Regions from separate parts of the Homo sapiens genome. Here region 1 is linked to region 2. Evidence: promoter capture Hi-C in 16 types of primary human blood cells and fetal thymus (Javierre and others, 2016). All regions are on one chromosome and are shown on one strand. Each heading gives the region's core, a stretch centred on a gene start or on the middle of the fragment in contact. The rest is flanking DNA. Distances are from core to core; before and after follow the strand shown.

The links. Contacts are between HindIII fragments. The CHiCAGO score rates a contact against its expected background, and 5 or more counts as called.
Region 1: a contact is called between the fragment with the promoter of BHLHE23 here and the fragment with the promoter of SLCO4A1 in region 2, in 2 of 17 cell types (neutrophils and non-activated CD4 T cells). The highest score is 6.1, in neutrophils.

Annotation. Positions count from the first base shown.
Region 1 is chr20:63,002,828-63,008,529 of GRCh38, reverse strand. It overlaps BHLHE23 (basic helix-loop-helix family member e23), which reads left to right and starts at 1,566. Exons shown (of 1, transcript NM_080606.4): 1 at 1,566-2,603. The coding sequence starts at 1,756. The coding sequence ends at 2,481. RefSeq lists enhancers at 434-1,141, 1,142-1,847, 4,172-4,685. The HindIII fragment of the contact is 10,733 bases long and covers 1-5,702 here.
Region 2 is chr20:62,640,189-62,646,003 of GRCh38, reverse strand. It overlaps SLCO4A1 (solute carrier organic anion transporter family member 4A1), which reads right to left and starts at 3,501. Exons shown (of 12, transcript NM_016354.4): 1 at 3,451-3,501. LOC124904949 (a long non-coding RNA gene) reads left to right here and starts at 3,667. Exons shown (of 2, transcript XR_007067711.1): 1 at 3,667-4,351; 2 at 4,658-5,815. RefSeq lists a silencer at 3,064-4,013. The HindIII fragment of the contact is 5,977 bases long and covers 1-4,378 here.

The DNA of each region.
Region 1 (5,702 bases), core at 317-2,816, 360 kb before region 2:
TGCCCTTCCCTGTGCCAGGCCTCCTCCGGCCACCTGAATGCTCCCCCGACCCCGGCCCGTGGCCACAATGACACCCACTCACCCTTCAGACCCAGGCCCAAACACAGCGGCCTCCTCCACACCAGGTATCCTCAATTCCCGGTCTGTGCATCAGCCCCGAAGGCGGGGTGGGGTCCCAGGACAGCGCCTCAGACAGACGCTTCCATCCTCGGGGCCCCTGCGCTCCTGGCGGGCGTGTGCTGGGGGTGAGGCCGGTGCTGCAGGACGCGCAGCCAGACAGGCCGCCAGCCCGGCAGAGGCTGCCTCAGACCCATTCCCCTCCGCCAGGACAAAGGCCTGAGTTTCCCACGGAGACTTATCCATGCATCTGTCTCCTCACACCCCGCACCTGGCAGGGAACCACCGGACAGGCCGGTCACTGCTGCGTTCCCAGAACCTTCCAGACAGCACATCCGCCCCACACACGTGCAGCTCCCACTCCCCTCCCGGGGCTGCGCACACTGCCCCATCGCTGTGGCTCCTCCTGGGGCGGAGCCTGGAGAACAGGGAGGGTATGCGGCCCTTCCCAGGTCACACAGAAGGGCCCGACGGGCCGCTCCACCTCGTGCCATAGGCCAGGGTGGCCCAGTCTCCCACCCAAGCCAGGACCGGAGAAGCCACTATCCCTCAGCACACTCTAGCCTCAGCACTCGGCCGGGCCTCCAGGCAGGTTCCCACCTGGGAGAAGGGCTGGGGTTCTGGCCTTCATGCGGGGTTGGAAGAGGACTGAAAAGGCGAGTCCGAGGCTGGCCACATTCCCATCCAGTGTGGCTGGACCCCAGGGGTTCGGAGGCTCCGGGAAAGCCCACCAAGCCTCACGCGTTTCGCTGATAGATGCCCAGGAAGCGGCTGGCAGGGAAGAGGCGGTCCTGCAGCTCACAGAGCTCCCCTCCCACCCCCGGGGAGCCCCAGGCCGCGCTGCCCTCCACCTTCCCGCCCTCCCCGGCCTGCAACGCTCGTGGCGTTTTTCAACAGGTTCTAGAAACTCCCTCTCACTCTGCCCCTCAAGCCTGGCCACAGGGCGCCCCGAGCAGGGAGTGTGCGGGCTCCGGGTACACGCTGCGCCGCGGCTGCACCAGAGCGCCCACGACCCTGACCCCGACCCGAAGCGGCCCCTCAGCGGGACAGGGTGTTGGCGCTGGCGCTGCTGCTATTGCGGCGCGCCCCCCCGCTCTGGCCCCTGCGTGTCGCCAGGGACTCTTGCGCTAGGGTCAGACTCAAAGACGGACCGAGGCGGGTGCCCACCTGGGACGCGTGCGTTTGGTGGCGGAATCCCCGGGGCGGCCGGAGGCGGCGGCCGGGGAGTCGAGAAGCAAGTACTAGCGCTCCAGGACCGCGCGCGCCGCCCCGCGCCGCCCCGCGCCGCCCCTCGGTCCAGAGCCCCCACCCCCGGCCTGTGAGCCTGCGGCGCTGGTGGAGCCCGGCTCCAGGAAGAGGAGCTCACCCGGTCCCCCCTGATTGGACAGCAGCGAGGTCCCACCGGGCGCCTCCGCGGCTTAAAACCGAAGCGGGGGCGAGGGGGAGGTAGAGCCCGCCCCCTGCGCGTCGCGGCTGGGAGGGAGAGGAGGTGGGAGAGAAGGAAGAGGCGGAGGAGGCAGCGGGCGCCGAGGCTCTGGGACCCGCAGGCAAGCCAGACCGACGCGCAGAGCCGGGAGCCTCATCGCAGCGGCAGCGGCAGCGGCGGGCTCGGGCCGGCCTCGGGGGCTGCTCACCCACATGAGCATCCGCCCACCCGGCGAGCCCCCGAGCCCAGGCGGCGCGGCCATGGCCGAGCTCAAGTCGCTGTCGGGGGACGCGTACCTGGCACTAAGCCACGGCTACGCGGCGGCGGCTGCGGGTCTCGCCTACGGGGCGGCGCGAGAACCCGAAGCGGCCCGCGGCTACGGCACTCCGGGCCCGGGCGGCGACCTCCCCGCGGCGCCTGCACCTCGCGCCCCAGCTCAGGCGGCGGAGAGCAGCGGCGAACAGAGCGGGGACGAGGACGACGCCTTCGAGCAGCGGCGGCGGCGGCGCGGGCCAGGGAGCGCGGCGGACGGGCGGCGGCGGCCGCGAGAGCAGCGGTCTCTGCGGCTCAGCATCAACGCGCGCGAGCGGCGGCGCATGCACGACCTAAACGACGCGCTGGACGGGCTGCGAGCCGTCATCCCCTACGCGCACAGCCCGTCGGTGCGCAAGCTCTCCAAGATCGCCACGCTGCTGCTCGCCAAGAACTATATCCTCATGCAGGCGCAGGCCCTGGACGAGATGCGGCGCCTGGTGGCCTTCCTCAACCAGGGCCAGGGCCTGGCCGCGCCCGTAAACGCCGCGCCCTTGACGCCCTTCGGCCAGGCCACTGTGTGCCCCTTCTCCGCAGGCGCCGCCCTGGGGCCCTGCCCTGACAAGTGCGCCGCCTTCTCCGGGACGCCCTCCGCGCTTTGCAAACACTGTCACGAGAAGCCGTGACCGCGCGGGCCCCCGGCCCTCCCGCACGCGTCCTCCGATCGCCCCTGTGACTGTCTCTCTGCCCGGACAGGAAAGGCCTGGAGGGACCCTGCAGACCAGGAGGAGGGGGCCCGACTTCGCTTCCAGCCTGTGCGCGGTGGACAGTTTAGCGCAGCGGGAAGCGCCAAGGCCGTCGGGGCGCGGGATTGAGCTCGAGAGCCGGACGCTGGACTCTGCGCCCGGGAACTCGCGGCACCCACTGGGTATTGTCGGGACCCAGCAAGTCTAGGAACGGGGGTGGGTAGAGCATCCTTCGGGCACTGCCGTTCGTCCCCAAAAGAAGACCACCGCGGGGTCCCAGGGCCACGGCGAGGACGGGCACTGGTCAGATTCCGGACAGGCGGTCCTGGCCCCGGGCGCACGAAAGGTGGAGACGAAGAAAAGCCGGACTTACTGGCTCCTGATCCTCTTGCAGTGGGCCTCGCGCTCCCGCTCCAGCCGGCCCTTCGTGCTAAACTGCAGGGCAGTGCTCTGTTCCTGAGGACGCGCGTGGCCGGCACCTCCCACCTCGGTGACTCCGAGACTCCGCAGCCCTGCGGAGAGCCCACGATGGCCGTCTGCAGAGGAGCTGGACCGCGGGCGCAGGAAGACCCCGGGGAAGGCCTTTTCCAAGTAGGAGTTTGTTCTATTTATTTGGGAATTGGACGCCGTCGCCGGCTGCCTCGAAGTCTGAGGAATTTGTCCCCTAAATGTCCCCTGGCCTCCCCCCCCCGCCGCCATCCGCTGCCTGGGACGTCCGCGGGGTGGAGTTGGATGGAGACCGCTTTGCGGGCCCTCTGCCTCGGGGGGCTGCGTGGAGGAGGGTCCTCACAGCCCGCGCCCTACTTAACCCTGACGGTCAGGGGAGGGCCCCGTCTAGCCCTGGTGTCCAGCAAACCCCCTCCCCACCGATCCCCTCTCCCTTCCGAGGGAGGAGGCCGGGCTACGGGTGAGTAAGCTGCTGCGGGCCCCGTGCCCCGCCGGGTGTGAACGGAGATGCGCTGCGCAGTGCCCGTCCTGCGCAGCTCCCAGCTCTGCCACCATCCGGGATCCAGGGAGCCGGGCAGGGTGCCCCCGGGGACCCATCTGTCCGCGCCGGTTTGCGCCCCGCGGCCCCGCCGCAGTATCCGGCTTTATTAACCCAATTTCCTCGGCTGTCGGTAATGCCAAGGGGAGAGGGCCGCCGCCCTGCAACGCGCCTGTCTACAGCGTTTAACTCTGATTAATACATTCCACAGGGCCTTCTGTACTTGCAAAATCAAGTGTATGGTTAAGTCTTATTCATAAAGACATATGCCTAATACTGGTTTCTGCTAATTTCCACTTTTATTTCTTCATTGTCTTTTTTTTTTCCCCTAACAGACTAGTTTATCAGTTTTGCACATTCGAAAAGCTGAGTGCCAGACACCGTTTTTCCCCTTTTAGATAAAGTGGGAAAGCTGGAAACTCAAATGCCCTTCACTTCTAGGGTCATTTCAACGTGATCTTAAATAAATTACCTGCTTATCAGAATTTGAAACAGGGGTGTTTATTCTGGTTAAAATCAGAGACATTGGTACATCATTTATATTCAGAATAAAGCATTTTATTGCCATTTATTTTATAAAAATAATATGGTTAAATTTTAATATCAAGTGAAATAGTGTTCATTTGTAGCTGAATTCACAATAATTTCAATTTTCAGATACTTGTGTCCACTCGAAACCAGAGTCTGAAGAGTCTCTGAGATGCTAAAACTCATCTAAAAGCAACCACTTATTATAGCACATGTGTGAAATCATAAGGAAAAGGGCAGAGGAAAAAAATCTCTCTTTCTCTCTTTGGGTGGAGAATAAGTTTTTGAAAAAACCACTTCACTAATCAAAAATTCTTCCGATTACTTAATTTAAATAAAAATTCAAGTTACATTTAAACTTTTTTGTACATGACAAAGCTGTGTGTCTACTGTTCTACAAACGTCTGCATGCTTCTCACTTGGCCTGAGTGGAGTGGAGTGTTTCGGAGAATTAGCTCGCCTTCTCTGCAGTGGCTGCTCGCGAAGCCACCTGGGCAATCACAGTGTCATCTGGCCTTTCTCAGATTTGCCCAAGGATCTTCTCATTCCAAGACAGCCCTCCACGGCCTGTGTGCCCACATCTGGCAAACAGCAAAGCAGAACCCACGTGGGTGCCTGTGCAAGCCCGTGGCTCCCGAGAAACGTGGGGGGCTGCTCGTCTTTTCTCTGACGGCTGTGCTCCTGCAGGTGTGTTGAGAATGGCTGGGGATCACCGGGAAAGAACTTCACCGTCACCACCCACCAGGAGCCACCCTTCCCCCAACACTCAGGGAGGAACCAAACACGAAAGAGCTTTGCTTCCAGCTGAGCTTTTCAAGACGCTCACTGTGTTGTTTTGTTTTGTTTTGTTTTTTAAGACAGAGTCTCGCTCCATCACGGAGGCTGGAGTGCAGTGGCACCATCTTGGCTTGGCTCACTGCAGCCTCTGCCTTCCGGATTTAAGCGATTCTTCTGCCTCAGCCTCCCTAGTAGGTGGGACTACAGATGTGCGCCACCACGCCTGGCTAATTTTTGTATTTTTTTGTAGAGATGGGGCTTCATCATGTTGGCCAGGCTGGTCTTGAACTCCTAACCTCAAGTGATCTGCCTGCCTCGGCCTCCCAAGTGCTGGGATTATAGGCTGAGCCACCACGTCTGGCTAAGATGCTCACCTTTAGATTCCTTCTAGGTAGAGATGTGCAGGCTGTGGGAGGTGGGAGGCAGCGTCCCCAGAACCGAGGTGTTCACACCACCCCGTGACCAGTGTTGCTGTAGGGAGAGAACGTGGTCATGTGTAGAATTTTACATTTTCAAGTGGCCATATTAAAAAAGGAAATAGAAGCAGATGAAATTATTTTTATTGATAACTTAATACTTATCCCAATACATCCAAAATATCATTTCAGTGTGTCATCCATATTTAAAGTTATTCGATATTTTACTTTCCTGGCACTAAGTCTTCAAGTTCCAGCATGTGTTTAAAGCCCAGCTCAGTTCATACCAGCCATGTTCCAATGCGTTTCAGTGCTCAGTGGCCACGCGTGGTTTGGCAGCCTCGGGTTTTGCAGCTCTCGGCCGTGAAAACACCAAGCACGCAAAGTACTCCTTGCTTCTTTCTCTTTGTTTAATAATAACCAGGAAATGCCTATGGACTTAAGGAGTCCATTCT
Region 2 (5,815 bases), core at 2,252-4,751:
CTCAGGTCCACAGCGCCTCCCGAAAGGCAGAGTCCAGTGGCAAATGCAAGGGCCCCAAGTGAGCCTGGGGCAGACTGGACGACACACGCCACCCAAAGCATCGCAAGCTCTCCCTGCGGCTTGGGCCAGAGGGGCAATGCCTCAGGTGCCCCCCAAGGCTTGCCAGATTAGAAAAACCACCAAGAAAAGGCAAGGTCCGTGGGCAGGAAGGGCCTGGCTGCGCGTGGGAGGGAGAGGAATCTGGGCTCTCTGGCACCCAAAAGCGACCCCAGCCACTGGTGCCAAGTCTCACCCTACGCTTGGGCTACGTGGGGAGCGGCTTCTGCAGAAGGCACGTGGTTTGAAAAAGCAGTCACCTTCCGCCAGAAATGTAGTCCCAGGGTCTAATTCTGTGTGATGCTGGTGGGAAGGAGGCTACTGAAAAGAACTGAAGGGTTGGAGACAGCCGGAGACCCCAGTGTCTGAGGACTGAGGGTGAGGCTGCGGGTGAGGATGAGGGTGAGGGTGCGGGTGTGGGTGGGTCCTCACCCGCACCCTCATCCTCACCCGCACCCTCACCCTCACCGTAGCCTGAAGGGCCAGCAGGGGCCAGAGAAGGCAGCAGGGTCCCCAGGACCAGGTTGTTCTTTGTAGTCCCAGTCTGCTTCCTCTGCAGAGGCCCACAGGAGGACACGCCCAGAGTCTGTTGTCCCAGCAGCAGGGCCAGTTTCCTCCTCACACCCCTGGCAGGGCCAAGGCTCAGAGTCACCCAGAACCTGTTAACCTAGCATGTGAGTTACTGGCACCTCCCTCCCTGTTCAAGGGGTGCAATCCCCACGTGCCCATTCCAACAAGTGGGCAAGACCCAGATCCTGCCTGAAGTCAGCTGACACTCAGCAAGCTCACTGGGGGGCCAGACAGTGGTCCATGTCCCAGAACGAAGGCAACAGCAAGGTCTGAGGACTGTCCCATGTCCTTGTCCAAAAGCCAACAGTGTGCACCTTGCCACTTGCAAATGAGGCAGTCATGTGGCTCGTGAGGGAACGTTTTGTGGCCTCTGTCCACAGCCCGCTTGAGGAAGCAGGAGGGCTGGCCTGGCGTGGCTCTCTCCCAGAGCTCCAAGGGCCCTGCTCCCTCCTGCCCCCAGCACCAGGCTGCACGTTGGCTTTTCTGTGGCTCATCTCTGACCACCTACAACCATCTGCTGGGGAGAGCACCAGGACCCAACACGTTCCAGTGGACGAGTCCAGGAAGCCAGGAATGTATATTGGCTCAGCAGTACCCACCCCAGAAATGGATTAACACTCATGGAGACATCCGGATCGAAGACCTTGTAGGCACAATACTAAGCTCGATGAGTTAACTTTTCATTCTACAATGGGCTGAGAAAAATTTTGCCATTTGGAAGTCAGACCGACCTGGAGCCAAAACTGCAATGGGGCTTGGTCAAGCCAAGGGGCCCATCAGAGCCCCGAGGAGAGCCGGCCTCTCTGGGCTTAGTCTAGCAAGGAGAGCATGTCCATCCACCTGGCCACCCTTCACCTGGCCCAGCCTGCCCTGCCTGCCACGTGCCCAGCCAGCTCTCCACCATGGGAGGGACTTGCCCAGCACCTGCTTTAGGGGCCACACCCAGTGAGCTACAGATTAGGTCACGGCCACTCGGGAGGGAAGCTCCCTCATGAAGAATTTTCCAGGCACCACCTGCTGACCTTGCCCAGCAGGAAGGCAGGACACAGCCTGCTGAGGGCGGTCAGGGCAGCCTGGCTGTGGTCAGCGTCCAGGTCTCACCGAGTGGCCGGCCTCTGCCCTGGCTCCCTCCAGCAGCACAGAGGGAAGTCGGGCTGTGTGGTCTCGGCCCGAGCAACATCCTACTGGTGTCCTGCGATCACTGACAACCCAGAACAGACACTCTGGCCCAGTAACCGCAGGCCCAGCTCTTGGGACGCTGTTCTGGGTCTCCGGCCTGACCCTGCAGTCGCCTTTTGCCTCTTTAAGAACAGAGTCGTAAAACAGGAGCCCAAGCCTGGATCAGACAAACCTGGAGTCAGACCTCTTCAGCACTTACAAGCTGTGTGGCCTAGAGTCAATCACTTAACCTCTTGGTGCCTCAGTTTACTCATCTATAAAGTGGGAGTGATAATGGCCACCTCGTGGGGTTGCTAGGGACTGAATGAGACGATGCTCAAAGCAGGGGTACCATGCCCGGCACATTCCAGCACTCAACACCTAACCCCTGCTGTCACTGTCCTTGTCATTATTACCAGATTCACAAGCGGAGCCGGCTAAGGCCAAGGAGCTGTCCTCTGAGATCCATTTGCTCCCGCTGCTGGGAATGAAAACGTCGCTGACACCGGGCTCTGCAGAGCCAGTTTCTGATTAGATGGAGGTAACCCAAGTTCCAAAAACCACAGCTGAGGAGCAGCAGCTGACAAGCTGGTTGCATGGATGTGGAAAACTACCGCGTTCCAGCCGCCTCCAGACAGAAACAGGACGCATAGCCAGGTCCCACGGCAGCTCCAAAGAGGGCCTTGCACGCCAAGCGGGGCACCCCCCAGCCTGAGGGTTCACCAACCACGCGGACCACGCGGAAACCTAGCTGGGCTTCTCTCTCCCCTCGGGGCGCCAGTGCGGGAGGCGGTTTCTCCCTTGGAAGTGGAAGTCAGATCTGCTTCCAGGTTCCCGGTCTAGGGCCGGTCTAGGGCAGCTAAGCCTGCCTGCTCCTTCCTTTCCATCCTCCCTGGTCAGGGGAGCCCAACAGCAACGCGAGGGCACCCGACCCTCTGCCTGCACCTGGAGGGCGCCCGGGTCCCCCCAAGCCACGGCCAGGACGTCGCGTGGTGGGGCAGGGAAAGGGGCGCCGCCGCTGCTGGAAACTAGCCCTGTGCGCTCCGCCCGCGCTCCCCTCCCGGAGATGTCTCGAGCGCCTCTGGCGCGAACAAAGCCCGGCCGCCCCCGAGAAACTTCCGTGCATGAAGGTTTCCTCCTTGACTCGGCAGCAGCGGCCGCCGCAGGTGGGTGACTCCGCAACTCTGGAGCTCCGCGGAGGCGCGTTCGTCCCCAGCTGGATCTGTGGGGCCTGCGCCTGCGCGCGCTCCGGGCCACCTGCCCAGGTCACCTGCCCCGGCCACTCCGACAGTCCCTGCCAGGGCCGCAGCCCCTGCTCACCCGCTTCCCCCCGGCACCCGCTGCAGCGTGGGGCCCCTTCGCCTCGGTCCTCCTGCGGGCGACTCGGGAGCTCCTACCTGCGCAGCCGGCGGCGGGAAGCGGCGAATTTGGCCTCCGATTCCGCTCGGTCCTGCCCTCCCCCGCGGAGAGGCTCGGGGCGCTCGGCCGGTGCCCAGGCCTCCCGCCCCCGCGCGCATCCCCCCGGCGCTCCAGCCCCTGCCCACGATGGCGGCACCTGCCGCGCTCCTACGCCAGCAGGTCGGGCCCTGTGCACCCGCGCCAGCTCCCCGCTCCCCGCGCACTCACCGTCCCCGTCTCGAGGGCCCGGCCGCCGCGCCGCGCAGCGCTCCACGCTCTGGCCTCCCCGGCAGCCACGCGCCGCTTCATTCATCCGCTGGGGCCGCCCCCGCCGCAGAGGGAGGGGCGGGGTTTCCTGCGCGGGGCCCGCCTCACCCCCCACGGCCAATGGCAGCGGCGACCGCCCCCTCCTCCCCCCCAGGGCACAGAGGCGGGAACGCGCGGCGGGGGACCAGGGCGTCTCTCTCCGGAGCGCTGCCGCCTCCTGGACTCCCCGCTCCAGCTCCAAGGACCGGCATCGCTGCCGCAGCCGGGAGGCCGAGAACGCGCGGTGGCGACGCCGCCCCAGGCCACGCGGCGAGGCGGTTCCGAACGGACTCGGGATTCGCTCCTGGGCGCTGTGGGGCCGAGTGGAGCCAAGCGGCCGTTTTTCAGCTCCGCCCTTCCGAAAGGCTGCCGCAGGGTCGGGGCCACGTGGGGCCCGCGGCAGAGGGGCTGGGGGAACGCCACGGGCGGCCCTGGTGAAGGTGCCCGCCGGTCTCGGCCTGACCCCCAGGCCCTGTTCTGGCACGCGCCCCACCTGCGCGCACAGTGAGACCGGCGCCCTAGCCTGGGAATCCGGGGAATCTCCAGCCCGTTGCCTTTTCCATAACCCCGTCTTCTTTTTCACACTAGCTCTGAGGGTGGAAGGCAGGGAGGTGCCAGCCACGTTCCCTTCCACAGAGGGAACTCCCTGTTGGAATTCCTACCCCGGCTTCCTGCCGTCTGTCCTGGAACACATTGCTCCAGGCCTCCGAGCCTCAGTTTCCTCGTTTGCAAAATGGGGGCGATAACAGAGCGTCCTCAAAGGGGATAAGACGGAAGAAGTTGGCTCATATCAGGGCTCATAATTGTTGCCAAGTATTAACAGGTAACCACAATCACACTCCACAAAGCTTCCCTTTTAGTGTCAGTGAAATTAATTTAAAAGAAGTTTCCGAAAGTCAAGTGTGTGTGTGTGAATCCTGAGATAAGTCAGGTAAGGGGGGAAATGACCACCTCACGGCCCCAGGCTGGTGAGGAAGTCCTAGCCACGGAGGCGGTGCTGCAGGACCTGGCCTGGTGGCATAGCGTGGCGGGCGGGTTCACCGTGGAGAGACGAAGGAGGTGCTGCGGCTTGTGAGAAAAGGCCCACAACCCCATGCAGTTATTTATGAAATGGTTTTCCTTCCTCCAGGGCTTGGGGCTCCTGCCCACTCGTATCAGGTCCCGGGACCCCCCCGGTGGTGTCCTCAGGGCTCCCGCCGTCCCAGGCCGCCCTCCACTTCTGGAAGCAGACACGAGGCCACGAGACCCACTGCTTTTGGGTATCTGCTTTCATTCCTGACACTGCCCTTTAAGAGAAAAAAGTACCCACATTGTTCCCAGATGGAGAGGGTCCCTCCCAGAGGGTGAGGCACTGCCACAGGGGCTCACGGCCCTGCCAGGAGTGGAAGGTGCACACCCAGAAGTATTTCTCCTGTGAAGGAAGGGGGCTGAGCTTCGCTGCAGACCTGGCCTCAGGTGTGGATGAGCTTCGCTGCAGACCTGGCCTCAGGTGCGGAGTCTGCGGGAGCAGCATTTCCAGGCAGACCTGACAGAAGGTGCCTTTGAGAGGTGGTGAGCTCCGTGTTACAGGAGGCTTGTGAGCACAGGTAGCCCATCTTCTGGTGATGATGCTGGAGAAGCAATTCAAATGTCAGAAGCAGGACTGGACTCTGTTTCCAAAACTCACGTCTGGATTCTACCCCCTGAAAACATTATTTACACAATGTTTTTCCTTTAAACAATTCACACATTTGATTAAAAGGGTAAGTTTATTTTTTAAAAAGTCAGTGTCAATTACCACAAAGAGGTCACCATAAAAATAGATAAAAAGAAACAAAATGGCATTAAATTCTAGCCAAATATTGCTGCCTGTGGAGGGCTCCCGGCCTGAGACCCGCCTCAGACCCCACCAGGCATTCTTTGGGATTCCTGCATAGGCACCATTGGAAAGGTAAATCCAGAGCAAACATTTCAGGTACATTCGTGCAAAATGCAGGCCCTCAGTCCTGTCCTCAAAGGCAAATGCTGGTGCCCAGGCTCCTCAAGAGGCCCCTAGGAGCACCAGGAGGCCTTGACCCAGGTGAAGGGTCCTGCCGCAGGCCATCAAGGGGGTCTGCAGGTCTGGCCCAACTCCAGGCCCTGCGTGGTGGGGTCCATCTGCACCAGCTTTCGGGAGCCGACTGTGTCCTTACTCTTGCCCTAGAGGACTCGGGGGTCAGCTACAGAGCACAGCAGTGTCTTGGAACAAGGGCAGCCTGATTATGTGCCCTGGAACATTCTGAACTCAATAAGTTCTATCCCAGCAGGG